4 separate regions of the Homo sapiens genome follow, and regions 1, 2 and 3 are each linked to region 4. The links are contacts of gene promoters, found by promoter capture Hi-C in human tissues and cell types (Jung and others, 2019). All regions are on one chromosome and are shown on one strand. The core of a region is centred on a gene start or on the middle of the fragment in contact, and the rest is flanking DNA. Distances in the headings are between cores, read along the strand shown. Region 1 has its middle 22 kb from the start of PABPC4-AS1. Region 2 overlaps HEYL (hes related family bHLH transcription factor with YRPW motif like). Region 3 holds the start of ZMPSTE24 (zinc metallopeptidase STE24). Region 4 holds the start of MFSD2A (MFSD2 lysolipid transporter A, lysophospholipid).

The links. The method cuts DNA at HindIII sites, captures the fragments that hold promoters and counts their contacts. A contact is called where the count stands out against the background at its distance.
Region 1: a fragment that was not itself captured here is called in contact with the fragment with the promoter of MFSD2A in region 4 in 1 of the 25 tissues and cell types used here (hippocampus).
Region 2: a contact is called between a fragment that was not itself captured here and the fragment with the promoter of MFSD2A in region 4, in 1 of the 25 tissues and cell types used here (IMR-90 fibroblasts).
Region 3: the fragment with the promoter of ZMPSTE24 here is called in contact with the fragment with the promoter of MFSD2A in region 4 in 1 of the 25 tissues and cell types used here (stomach).

Annotation. Positions count from the first base shown.
Region 1 is chr1:39,541,443-39,544,527 of GRCh38, forward strand. It overlaps the pseudogene PPIEL. Among named protein-coding and RNA genes, the nearest start is that of PABPC4-AS1, 22 kb to the right of the region's middle. The HindIII fragment of the contact is 4,869 bases long and covers 1-3,085 here.
Region 2 is chr1:39,629,254-39,632,218 of GRCh38, forward strand. It overlaps HEYL (hes related family bHLH transcription factor with YRPW motif like), which reads right to left. Exons shown (of 5, transcript NM_014571.4): 3 at 2,243-2,326; 4 at 974-1,055. Among named protein-coding and RNA genes, the nearest start is that of HEYL, 8.9 kb to the right of the region's middle. The HindIII fragment of the contact is 5,291 bases long and covers 1-2,965 here.
Region 3 is chr1:40,256,441-40,259,623 of GRCh38, forward strand. It overlaps ZMPSTE24 (zinc metallopeptidase STE24), which reads left to right and starts at 1,796. Exons shown (of 10, transcript NM_005857.5): 1 at 1,796-1,954. The coding sequence starts at 1,832. RefSeq lists enhancers at 1,027-1,156, 1,387-1,656, 1,737-2,016, 2,107-2,206. The HindIII fragment of the contact is 19,109 bases long and covers 1-3,183 here.
Region 4 is chr1:39,953,891-39,956,875 of GRCh38, forward strand. MFSD2A (MFSD2 lysolipid transporter A, lysophospholipid) reads left to right here and starts at 1,255. Exons shown (of 14, transcript NM_032793.5): 1 at 1,255-1,495. The coding sequence starts at 1,403. RefSeq lists a silencer at 1,077-1,206. The HindIII fragment of the contact is 9,041 bases long and covers 1-2,985 here.

The DNA.
Region 1 (3,085 bases), core at 131-2,630, 410 kb before region 4:
GAACTGAAATAACCCAAAATAAAAAACAGAAAAGCTTTTCAAAGCCCAAAGCTAACTCCACCCTAGCAAGGCTGAACGGTTCTCCTGTGTCTGGTAGCTGGGTCTCCTCCAGATTCCCTGTTTCTCAGCCAGAACCACGGCTCATCCTTCCACCCTGCACGGCCAGCTGCCCTCGCCCAGCCTCCCTTGTCACCACACGATGAGTGGTTCCTACCTGGTCCTGTGTGTTTGAAGATAAAGTTTTCATCATCAAATTTCTTCTTGTAGATGGACTTACCCCTGGTGCCACCGTGGTTTGTGAAATCACTGCCCTGGCAAATGAACTGGGGGATAATGCGGTGGAAGCTGCTTCCCTTGAAGCCGAGTCCTTTAAATGGGTGCACATGTAGAGAAAATTCTCTGGGATTGAGAAAGAGAAAAGTGCTGAGGTAAGAATATCTAACTAGATAATTAAAACTCCAGCTCTCTGTAACATGCCATCTCTACAAAAATAAAAATAATCATTTGGGTCCCAGCCACGGTGGCTCATGCCTGTAATCCCAGCACTTTGGGAGGCCAAGGTGGGTGGATCACCTGAGGTCAGGAGTTCGAGACCAGCCTGGCCAACATGGCAAAACCCCATCTCTACTAAAAATACAGAAACTAGCTAGGCATGGTGGCACACTCCTAGGTGACAAAGTGAGACCCTGTCTCTGAAATAAAATACACACACACCCCCAAACTCCAGCTCTCCAAATCTAAAAAAGTACATAGTACCTTTATTTAAACTAAATGCTTAAGTGTGGAAGTGGCACACAAATAGATAGAACAGACTAGGTGAAAAGAAGAGAAAGTCCCGAATAGACCCAGAAACGTATGAAAATTCAGTATTTCAGCTAGGCATGGTGGCTCACATCTGTAATCTCAGTACTTGGGGAGGCCAAGGCAGGAGGATTGCCTGAGCAGAGGAGTTGGAGACCAGCCTGGGCAACACGGCAAGACCTCATCTCTATTAAAATATATACATAGGCCAGGTGCGGTGGCTCGGGTCTGTAATCCCAGCACTTTGGGAGGCCGAGGTGGGTGGATCACCTGAGGTCAGGAGTTCAAGACCAGCCTGACCAATGTGGTAAAACCCTATCTCTAATAAAAATACAGAAAATTAGCTCGGCATGGTGGCATGTGCCTGTAATCCCAGCTACTCGGGAGGCTGAAGCAGGAGAATCACTTGAACCCGGGAGGCAAAGGTTGCAGTAAGCTGAGATCATGCCATTTTACTCCAGCCTGGGCAACAAGAGTGAAATTCCGTCTCAAAAAAAAAAAAAATATATATATATATACACACACACACACACACACATATACAAAAATGTATATATATGTGTATGTATGTATATGTGTGTGTATATATGCATATATATGTGTGTGTGTGTGTGTGTGCGTGTGTATATATATATATATATATAAAGGAATTAAATATTTCATAAAGCTTGGCATCTTAAATCACTGGGTCAAAGATGGACTTTCTATAAACTGGTCTTAGGACAACTGAATAAACATTTGGACTCCCCCACCCAATTATGCTAGGCAGCGATGACCTGAGAAGGTATATAATGACCAGGAGCTCAAATCCCCACAGACAAAGGTCTAGGTCACCCCACCTGATAAGCCATTTAGATTAGCAGAGGAACCAGCTGAGGTGAGGATGAGAGGTATCTAAAATGGATAGCAGAGGAGGGAGGCCAGGCGCCGTGGCTCACACCTGTAATCTCAGCGCTTTGGGAGGCAGAGGTGGGTGGATCACCTGAGGTCAGGAGTTCAAGACCAGCCTGGCCAACATGGTGAAGCCCTGTCTCTACTAAAAATATAAAAACCAGCTGGGCATGGTGGTGGGCGCCTGTAATCCCAGCTACTCGGGAGGCTGAAGCAGGAGAATCACTTGAACCCGGGAGGCGGAGGTTGCAGTGAGCCAAGATCATGCCATTGTACTCCAGTCTGGGATTACTAATAGTAATATGAGTATATTTTTCAGAGACATAGCAATAAAAGCCCAAATAATTAAAATAGTTAAAAGAAATGAATGTTGCCTCTGGCAGGGCAGAAAAATTATGTTGGGGGAGCAGAAGAATGTTTTATTATAGAACGATTTTCTTTAAACTATGTGCAATTATGACTTTAAGAAACATTTTTAAAAGCTAGATTAAGACAAAAAAGATTATGGGTAAAAAAAGGTCATCATGAATACTTAAGAAAAAAAGGAAAACACAACTGTCAATTGTAGCTACCTCTGGGAGATGGGCTGAATAGTAAGGAGAGAAAGTTTTAGTTTCTGATTGATACCCTTAAAAATAGTACTTTTCTGGCTGGGTGCGGCCGCTCATGTCTGTAATCCCAGCATTTTGGGAGGCCGAGGTAAGAGGATCACTTGAGTCCAGTTCAAGACCAGACTGGACAACATGGCAAAACCCACCATCTCTACAAAAAAAAATACAAAAGGGCTGGGTGCGGTGGCTCATGCCTGTAATCCCAGCACTTTGGGAGGCCGAGACGGGCAGATCACAAGGTCAGGAGATCGAGACCATCCTGGCTAACATGGTGAAACCCCGTCTCTATTAAAAATACAAAAAAATTAGCTGGGCGTGGTGGTGGGCACCTGTAGTCTCAGCTAATTGGGAGGCTGAGGCAGGAGAATGGCGTAAACCTGGGAGGCGGAGCTTGCAGTGAGCCAAGATTGCGCCCCTGCACTCCAGCCTGGGCAACAGAGCAAGACTCCGTCTCAAAAAAAAAAAAAAAAAAATTAGCTGGGAAACATAGTGAAACCTCCATCTGTACAAAAAACAATAAAAAATTGGCTGGGCATGGTGGTGCATGCCTGTGGTCCCAGCTACTTGGGAAGCTGAGCTGGGAGGATCACTTGAGCCTGGAAGGTTGAAGCTGCAGTAAGCCGTGATCACATCACCGCACTCCAGCCTGGGCAACAGAACTAGATCCTGTCTCAAAGAAAAAAAAAATAGCATTTTTTCCAGTGAAGACACTTGGCAAATAACTCCTTAACCAAGTCAACAAAATTAACATTGCAAATATCTGAAATAACATCATGTACTTC
Region 2 (2,965 bases), core at 269-2,768, 320 kb before region 4:
TTCACTGGATAACCATAAATGTAATTTGAATCTCCCCCATTGGTTCATTAGAGATGGAAGTCTCCACTCTTAGCAATGCATTTTTTTTGGCAGAAGTTCCCAAATGGACCACCTGCACCAGGATAATTGGGTGGCTTGTTAAACTTGCAAACTCCTAAACTTCAATCTAGACCTACTGCCTCAGAATCTCTGGGGGATGACTCCTGATTCTGCCTGCCCCAAGGTGACAATGGTATACACTGAGGCTTCAGAAGCACCAGAATGGGCCACTTAAAATGCTACTGTCCTCTTCTGTAGCAGTAAGTTAGGTCTCTGGAACTTAGGTCTTTGTGGCCAAGGCCTGTGGAGCTTTCAAGGTTTCCCAATTTTGAAATCACCAAATACACAGAGAAACTTTGAGTAGACAGAATTTCTATTTGTCTGGAAGTGTCTTTAAAGCCACTGTTCCCTTACTTTATTGTAACTGATGGGCTTAAAATAACAAAATGAGTTAATTTGTGTCCTGCTACAATCCTGAGACCTGTGGTGAGCATGATATGTCACCCCAGTTCTGCCAAGGACCCCACAGTAGCCCAGAAGGCTAGACCAGTGGGTAGGATACCAGGCTCCTCCCTGGGTTAAGGGGGGTCAGATTGGGATCCCAGTGAGAATTAGCTCATTCAGGTGAATTCTTAATGAGGTCCTGGGTTGGACAAGAGTGGGACCCATAGGAACAGTCTGTTACAGAAGAAAGCGCCTCCCAGGTCTAAGACTGGAGGGAGCTGAACTGAGGAAAAGGTTGCGACAAATGGAGACACTGAAAGTGGAGAGGGAGATGCTGAAAGGAGAGAGAGAAGCTTTGCAAATGTTCCCTCCATTGACTGAGCTCCTCAGAGTGGGCAGCGTGTGGACTTTGCTCACCAGCATATCCCCAGGGCCCAGCCTCAAAATATTTGTTGTATGAATGACGCCTGAAAGAGAAGAGCATGGGTACCTGTCCCACCAGTGGCATGGAGCATTTTCAAGTGATCCACCGTCATCTGCAAGACCTCGGCTTTCTCCAGCTTGGAAGAGCCCTGCGGGTACAGAAGACAGAAGGGTGGAGCCTGCAGCTGACCATGTAGCTGTGCGGTGTCATCAGCACTCACTGTCTCGATTTTCTCACCTTCCTCCCACTCCACTGCTGCCTGCAAATGGGCTTCTGCTTTGGCCAAGTTCTCCAAATCTAGAACATTCTTTTCAGTTCTCCTCTCAGACCATCTGTCCACTGTACAGCTGCCGATCATCTTTCCTGAAACCACTCCTCCCTTGACTTGCACGACACCACTGTTTCTGGGCTCTCCTTTCACCATGCCTCTTGATCTGCCGTCTCTTAACACAGTACTGTCCCTTCTGTGTCACTTCGCATTCTGCTGCTCCCTGCAGAGAGGCTTGTCACCTCCATGGCTTTAGCCACCATCCTCAGAATGCCTCTTAAACCAGCTCTTCAGGGAATCCAACTTCAGACTCAATGTGCCCAAGATCTAGCTCATCATCTTATCCCCAGACCACTTGTTCTTCCTCTTTTCTCTCTTGGGAAATGCTTCCTAAGCTTTCCAGGTGAAGCCTGAAGATCAGAGGCTCCATGGGAGTCCCTTGAGGGCAGATACTAGGTCTAGTTCATGGCTGGTCCTGTGATGGTTTTAGTGAACATCTGTGGGATGACTGACTTGTTCTCACCAGCATAAAGGAAGGCAGAGGACCCGTGACCTATGCCTTGGTGCATAGGGTGAGAATTTCTGAGGCTGAGTCCACTGTCTGATTCCCCGCTGTAGTTCCCCCACCTAACATGCTCAATGGTAGAGTGCTCACTCCCTGAGCAGCCTTTTCCACTTTCAAGTCACTCTAGAAATGTCTGTAGTGCAGAGGGATGAGGGCTTGAGAATCACACAGTCCTGTGCCCTGCTATTTACTAGCTGCGTGATCTGGTGTAAGTTACTTCACCTCTCTGTGCTTCAGTTTCTTTACCTGTGCCATGGGCATAATAATCCCTAACCTTTGGGATCATTTTGAGGAGTCAATTCAATGGGATGATAGACATAAAGACACCTGAGACACCTAAGTATAAATTTCCATTCCTTTTACCCTGGCCAGTGACAGATATTGGTAAATGATCACAGCATCTCAGGCAGCTGCTACCAATCAACAAGAGATGCCATGAGAAACGAACCTTATCTGCCACCCACACAGTATTTCCTCTAGCACAATCAGCAATGTCACATACCTGTTTCTCAAAGGCAGTGGGGACCAAGCGTCGCAATTCAGAAAGGCTACTGTTGATGCGGTCTCGACGCCGTTTCTCTATGATCTAAACAATCATGACAAGAAGTTACTCACAGGTGTGTCATCACAGTTTCCAAAGTGCCTTGATGGTCATCAACTCATATTTACCCACACAGTATTTTTGTGAGGGAGATCAATCTAGTCTTACTTTATGGTGGAGAAAACCAAGGCCCAGAGAAGGACAGTGATTTGCTTAAGGTCACACAGCAAGAAAGCGCAGAGCTGGGAGTACAACTCAGATCTCTTGTCTCGGTCTATAGGGGTGATATTCAAGATGTTTAACCACTGGTACAGCAGGGCACAGCCAATCACAATGAGGACACCAGCCACGGTGCTGGAGCAGGCCCTGGAGGCCCGTGCTGGGCCAGGAGGGTGACCCCGTCATCTGTGAGGTCATGAGATGGTTTGGGGAGTCCCACGTGTTGCTCTCTCTAGCTGCAGGGCCCTTCCACCCACACACTCTCATTCTTCCCTCCAATACTGGTAGCAGAACACCGGGAGCAGGACAGATATGACCCCATTTTACAGATAAGGAAAATGAGGGCTGGAAGGAAGTGGTTTGCCTAAGGGCTTACAGTCAGTGAGTGTCAGGCTGCTCTCTGCCAGACCCCAGGTGTCTGGACTCCCAGTGCAGAAACACAGCTGCATCCTGGGAGGAAAGTGG
Region 3 (3,183 bases), core at 546-3,045, 300 kb after region 4:
CTTTTATTATCTCTAACATATTTAGATTGTACTCTAACAAAAAATGTTATTCAAATATAGTACTTTGATGTTTGAACAACCTTTTCTTGATCACTTCTTCGCAATAAAAATATGACATATGTAGTAAACCTTAAAAAATTTCGTGTAACTTTATGGCTCTACGCTGGAATTCTTCTGAAGTGAGTAATCATCACAATCATCTTTAGTATATAATGGATCAAAATGACACGATTGCAAATATTGATAACACACAGTTATAAAAGGTGAAATTCTATTGGGAACACATCTCTTAGTGAGATAGATGGGGCTGACCCACCAATTAATTCATTTATCTGGATGAATAGTTCCTACTGGTAGATTAACAGGGTTCATTTTCAATTCTGTTGTTTTCACAGATACAAGTGCTGAGAAATGGTTTTACATAAATAGGTGAGAATGCTAGTAGTTTTGTTGTAAGCATGTCAATCAATCGTTTGGTTTCTTTCCGAGTTGCATGCCAAAAACCAAATAGTGTTCCTTCATCAGCTGACAATTCATGGGCCACCATTAATTTTGTTGAAAGCAAAGAACTGGAAACCATCTGACTTGAAAAGAATTTGTTATCCTGTTATTAGAGTCATTCACTTTCTCTAGTGACTTTTAATTATACTAATTACTCTCAGAGGCATTTAGGCAGGGTTGAGAAATTCAAGATATTAATTTCAACACATCTTTAGCATCACAATATCACAGTAATTTAAATATATTTTAGTTGTAGCTATTTAGCTCACTTTATTGTAAATAATAATTATGCTAATTAGCAACGATAGTATGTTTAACCAATTAATCATCAGATTAACTTTCGGTCAGAATAATGGACTTCAATTTTTAAGTCAAAGCAATGTACAGGCGTCCCAGTCACCATATTTCACTTCTGAATTCCAAGAGAGAAATGGCGTTGCGCCTTACTGACGCAAATATGTACCTAGATAAAGTAAGACGCTTTCATTTCAGGTATGTCTAACCCACGCTATCCTTGCTTTGTTCCAGGGCACTCTCGCAGGGAAAACGCCGCCTCTGACTACACTTGGGGTGGTTAAGACGAGATCTTCAAATGAAAATTCTCAACGCTACCGTCCACTCTCTCATACGCTTGAATTCCGAACACCCCAATACTGGCCAAAAGACTCCATTTCTCATGCTTGGTCTTGCTTTTGAGGTAGCTCTAACTCAGAGGCACGATTTTTAGAGCCTGGGAAGTCGGCTGCTGTTCAGTCCTTCCTAGCCTCCTCAGGCGGGAGCCGCGGCCCACTCAGTCAGTTGCGGCCCACTCAGTCAGTTCCGGCCCCAGCCCCGACTACCTGTCGCCTTGTTGGGGGAAGGAAGGCAGATACCGCAGCCCAGTCAGGGTAAGCCGCTGACCCAGAGGATGGAACTGCGGCTCTGGAGATTAGAAAGAGGAGGACTTCGCCGCGTTCACTAGCCCAGGAGGAAAGCCAGAACCCTAGGCCGGAACCCAGCGTCAAGACGTGGGGGAAGAATGTTGATGCAACACAGCTCAGCCGGGCCCGGAACTCGGCGTTTGGGTCCCCGCCCTCTTTGGGCCGGAAGTGAGGAAGGTGGGGCTGGGGCTTTTCCTGTAGAAACTAGGAGGGACTAGGGAGAGTCTGCAAGGGGAAGAGTGTGTCTGTGACACTGCCAGCAGCGCGCAGAGGGAGGGATGGGGGCGGGTATCGGCGTAGGGGCCCTCGGAAAGAACGGATATTGCTGTGACACCGCGGGGACGCTCTGAAGGGACGAGTGTCGGTGTGGCACCGGTGCACGCTGAAGGAGCCGGCGGAACCGGGTGGCCATGGGGATGTGGGCATCGCTGGACGCTTTGTGGGAGATGCCGGCCGAGAAGCGTATCTTCGGGGCCGTGCTGCTCTTTTCCTGGACAGTGTATCTTTGGGAGACCTTCCTAGCACAGCGGCAGGTGAGCCTAGACAGGGTCCAACCTGACCCCCATACCCGGCCAGCCCTGGAGTAGCCTTGGCTTCGACCCTGAGACTCTTGATTGCTTCGGTCCCCGCGCCAGTCTCGTCTTTGTGGTCCCTGCTGAGTCTCGTAACTTGGCCCGATGGCGGACTGTGGCTTTGAGGAGGGTCTTGGTGCGTCAAGGAAGTTTTCTGTAACGTTATCATGGGACCCAATCCCTTTAGGGCCTGGAGGAAGGCTTGGGCTCTTGTGCCCTCCCTGCAGCTTCCTTGGGATCCTTGGGCCCAGACTTGGCCTCCTTTATCTTTGGAATAAGCCTTTAAAAGGATTTAGACACCCAACTTCCTCATGACATTTATGTAATCATGCCTAACCATAGGATTTTGCAGTCCTTCCAAGAACTTGCACTCTTGTTTCTCCTTAAAGTGCATATATTGTTTCTGCTTGAAAAAACAAACAAACAAACAAAAAACTTATCGGGCCCGGCGTGGTGTCTCATGCCTGTAATCCCAGCACTTTGGGAGGCCGAGGCGGGCGGATCACCTGGGGTCAGGAGTTCGAGACCAGCCTGACCAACGTGGCGAAAACCCGTCTCTACTAAAAATAGAAAAATTAGCCGGGTGTGGTGGCGCGCACCTGTAGTCCCAGCTACTTGGGAGGCTGAGGCAGGAGAATCATTTGAACCCAGTAGGCGGAGGTTGCAGTGAGCTGAGATTGTGCCACTGCACTCCAGCCTGGGCGACAAGAGTGAAACTCAATCTCAAAATAAATAAATAAATGAAATTAAATGAAATATATTTCTCGTTTTTCATAAAATCAACATTATTTTAGTTTAAATATTAAAATGGTAAAATAAAAAGTGAAAGTTAACAATTTACCTGAGATAACCATGGTTTAGAGATCTGAACTTTTATTTATTTATTTTTAATCTTTATTTATTTATTTAATTTTAGAGTCTAGCTCTGTCACCAGGCTGGAGTACAGTGGCGTTATCTCGGCTCACTGCAAGAAACTAGGAGGGACGAGGGAGAGTCTGCAAGGGGAAGAGTGTGTCTGTGACACTGCCAGCAGCGCGCAGAGGGAGGGATGTTCAAATGATTCTCCTGCCTCAGCATCCCGAGTAGCTAGGATTACAGGCACGTGCCACCACGCCCAGCTAATTTTAGTATTTTTAGTAGAGACGGGGTTTCACCATCTTGGCCAGGATAGAATATTTATTGTATTTAG
Region 4 (2,985 bases), core at 5-2,504:
GAGGGAGCATGGTGTGACCATCCTGGGGCAGATAGACCTTATCTCTCCTCCCTGCAATCAGAGATTTAAAGAAAGGAAGAAGGAGGCTGACATTAAGGAGCACAGGAACCGGGTGGGTAGCCTTTGAGAGTTCCAGCAGCCCCTTCACTAATCAGAGAACTGGAAAGACCGGGGTGACATTGACATAAGGGACTCAGAGGTGGAACTAAAGACTGTTCTTTTCTGGCATCCGTGCCTGCCTTCTGTTCCAAACTAATGCCCTCCCATCTTCTTTTGAGGACCACATTTCTGGGCATTCTCTTTTTCAAAACTTTCCCTGTTTCAACCCTCAGTGCCTCTGGAGCCATGTATCTCCCAGGGCTTCTTGTTGGGAGACACATACACCCCATTCTGCCGTCTGTAATTTATGCTAAGAGGGATAGAGCAGGGCTGTTGAGAGCAACTGCTTTGGTATCGGACAAAACCTTTCAGGCCTGGCTCTGCTACATAACAGTTGCTTCACTTCTCCAAGTTTCCCCTTCCTGTGCTGTAAAATGGGGATAATAATAGTACCACCCTCACTTGGTGGTTTTTGAGGGCCGAAAGAGATCATATTAAGCATGGAGGAAGCTATCCATAAAAAGGCCACTGTTGTCATAGTGTACTAGCGGGCGTAGCCCCGGCTTCTCTCCACGACTTGGGAGCTCCCTTCTGGCAGGGGCAGCCACTGGATTGCCTCATCTTTCTCCCCATTGCCCGGATGCCAAGGGCAGGACGGGGGAATGGTGTGTCTTCGGGGATGAGAGAGAGGCATCAGGAGGGAAAGTGTCAGCGTACGTCCTCTAGGCTTGAAGAAGGAGAGAGGCCCTGACTCCAGATTTTAAAGTGGGCTTCAGAGCCCCTACCTTTCCTAGGCCTGGGGCTCAGAAGTCATGGGTGGTAGGCCCGACTCGGGGAGAGTCGGACCTTGGGGACCTCGGGGACCTCGGGCAGATCGGGGACCCCGGGCAGATCACTTTCAGCCTGGGGCCTCGGTTTCCTCGCGCGTGTCTGGGAGGTCTCGCGGCCTGCTTCTCGGATTGCTAGGAGCCAGCGCAGGCAGATGCCGGTTCCGGGGCTTGGAGAACGTGGCTCGGTGGCACAGAGCCGCCGGGCGAGGCGGGGGCAGGGAGGCGGGCGACGGGATTGGCTGGAGGCGGGGCAGCGGGGCTCGGGGATTGGCCGCAACCGAGAGGGCTGGGCAGAACTATAAGAGGCGCGGAGGGGGCGTGCAGCAGAGTGCGTTCCTCGTCTGCCAGCCGGCTTGGCTAGCGCGCGGCGGCCGTGGCTAAGGCTGCTACGAAGCGAGCTTGGGAGGAGCAGCGGCCTGCGGGGCAGAGGAGCATCCCGTCTACCAGGTCCCAAGCGGCGTGGCCCGCGGGTCATGGCCAAAGGAGAAGGCGCCGAGAGCGGCTCCGCGGCGGGGCTGCTACCCACCAGCATCCTCCAAAGCACTGAACGCCCGGCCCAGGTGAAGGTGAGGGCCCGGCACCCCGCGTGGAGGGCGAGGGGAGGGAGGAGGCGGAAATGGGGGATCAGGGGCGTCCCGGGGTCGGCCTGGTCAGGGGACCATTGGGATAGCCAGGGACAGGAAGCCTACGAGCCAGAGAGGACCTGGGGGTGCCCTGGGACAGGGGGTGACGGAGAAAAGCTGTGGGCGCCCTCGCCCCCCTTTGCTCACCCGCACTCCACGCTCTGCGGAGAGGCTCTGCCGGCAGCCCCATGTGATTCCCCGCTCTGCCTAGCCGGTTTCCATTCTTCCGTGTTGAGCGGCTGGGGCTTGCCGCCCCAAACCCCAGAGATGACCCCAGAAATCTGGGAAACTCCCCTTGGTTCCCCATCTCTCATCCCCTACCTCCCACTCCACCCACCTACTCTTGCGCCTCAACTCTGCTGTTAGGGCCGCTCAAGTTCATTCATAAGAACAAGAGCTCTGCTCTTAAAGGAGCCGCGTCCCTCAGGCATTTGTCTGAATGTGGATGTTCGCGCGGGAACGGTGCTTTGCGCATCGAGACCATCGACCACATCCCCAGCCCTGGGGACTTATTGAAGGACCAAATAAAATGAGGCGGCCCCCTAGGAAAGGATCTCAGGCAATAGATACCTTCGTGGGAGGTGACTGCCTTTTCCTTTTAATTTTATTAACTGATCTTTGGAAGGAGCTGGGTGAGCAATTATGCTGTTACTATGTATGAGTAATATCTACTTTCCCTGGGCAACCCAACCTCCCTAGTGCCCCACCCGGAGAGGGATCAGGCCTGAACCTGGAGGCCTTTCCTCCCGTCTCCAAGGTCCTCTAGGAGCTCAGGGGTGGAGGGCGATGGGTCGGGAAGCTGGAGAGTAGGACAGTTCCTGGGTCCGCCTGAAGCTCTGGCTGCCTATAGTGGTCAGGGATGCTCTGGGATAGGTGGAACAGCTGCGCCTGCAGCCAGCTGGGCCGGGCCCCCGTAGCTCTCTAGAGCTCTCACCAGGAGTAGGCAGGTGGATCCTGTCTCTGAGGCAGGGTGGGAGCCTGGGCTGGGCTCAGGCAGCTCTTGGCAGCAAGCGGATTTTCAGGTTGTGGCAGCTGGTGCCGGGTGGGGACAGGTCGGCTGCTGGAGCATGCTCCCCCTGAAACCTGGAAAGGAGCAGTGCCTGAGGCCTTGGGAGGAGTTCTTTAGGGATGGTGGGCTGATAAGTTTCCTTAGAATCTCCAGGAGGGAGGTGGCTTAGGGGCTACTTTCACACAAGTATGGATTCCCCTTTTCCATGTTCCTAAGAATGGAGAACACCTTTCTTTTGTATAAAGTGGGATCTCGGAGATCGAGACCATGCTGGCTAACATGGTGAAACCCCGTCTCTACTTAAAATACAAAAAATTAGCTGGGTGTGGTAGTGGGTGCCTGTAGTCCCAGCTACTTGGGAGGCTGAGGCAGGAGAATGGCGTGAACCCAGGAGGCGGAGCTTGCAGTGAGCCGAGATGGCACC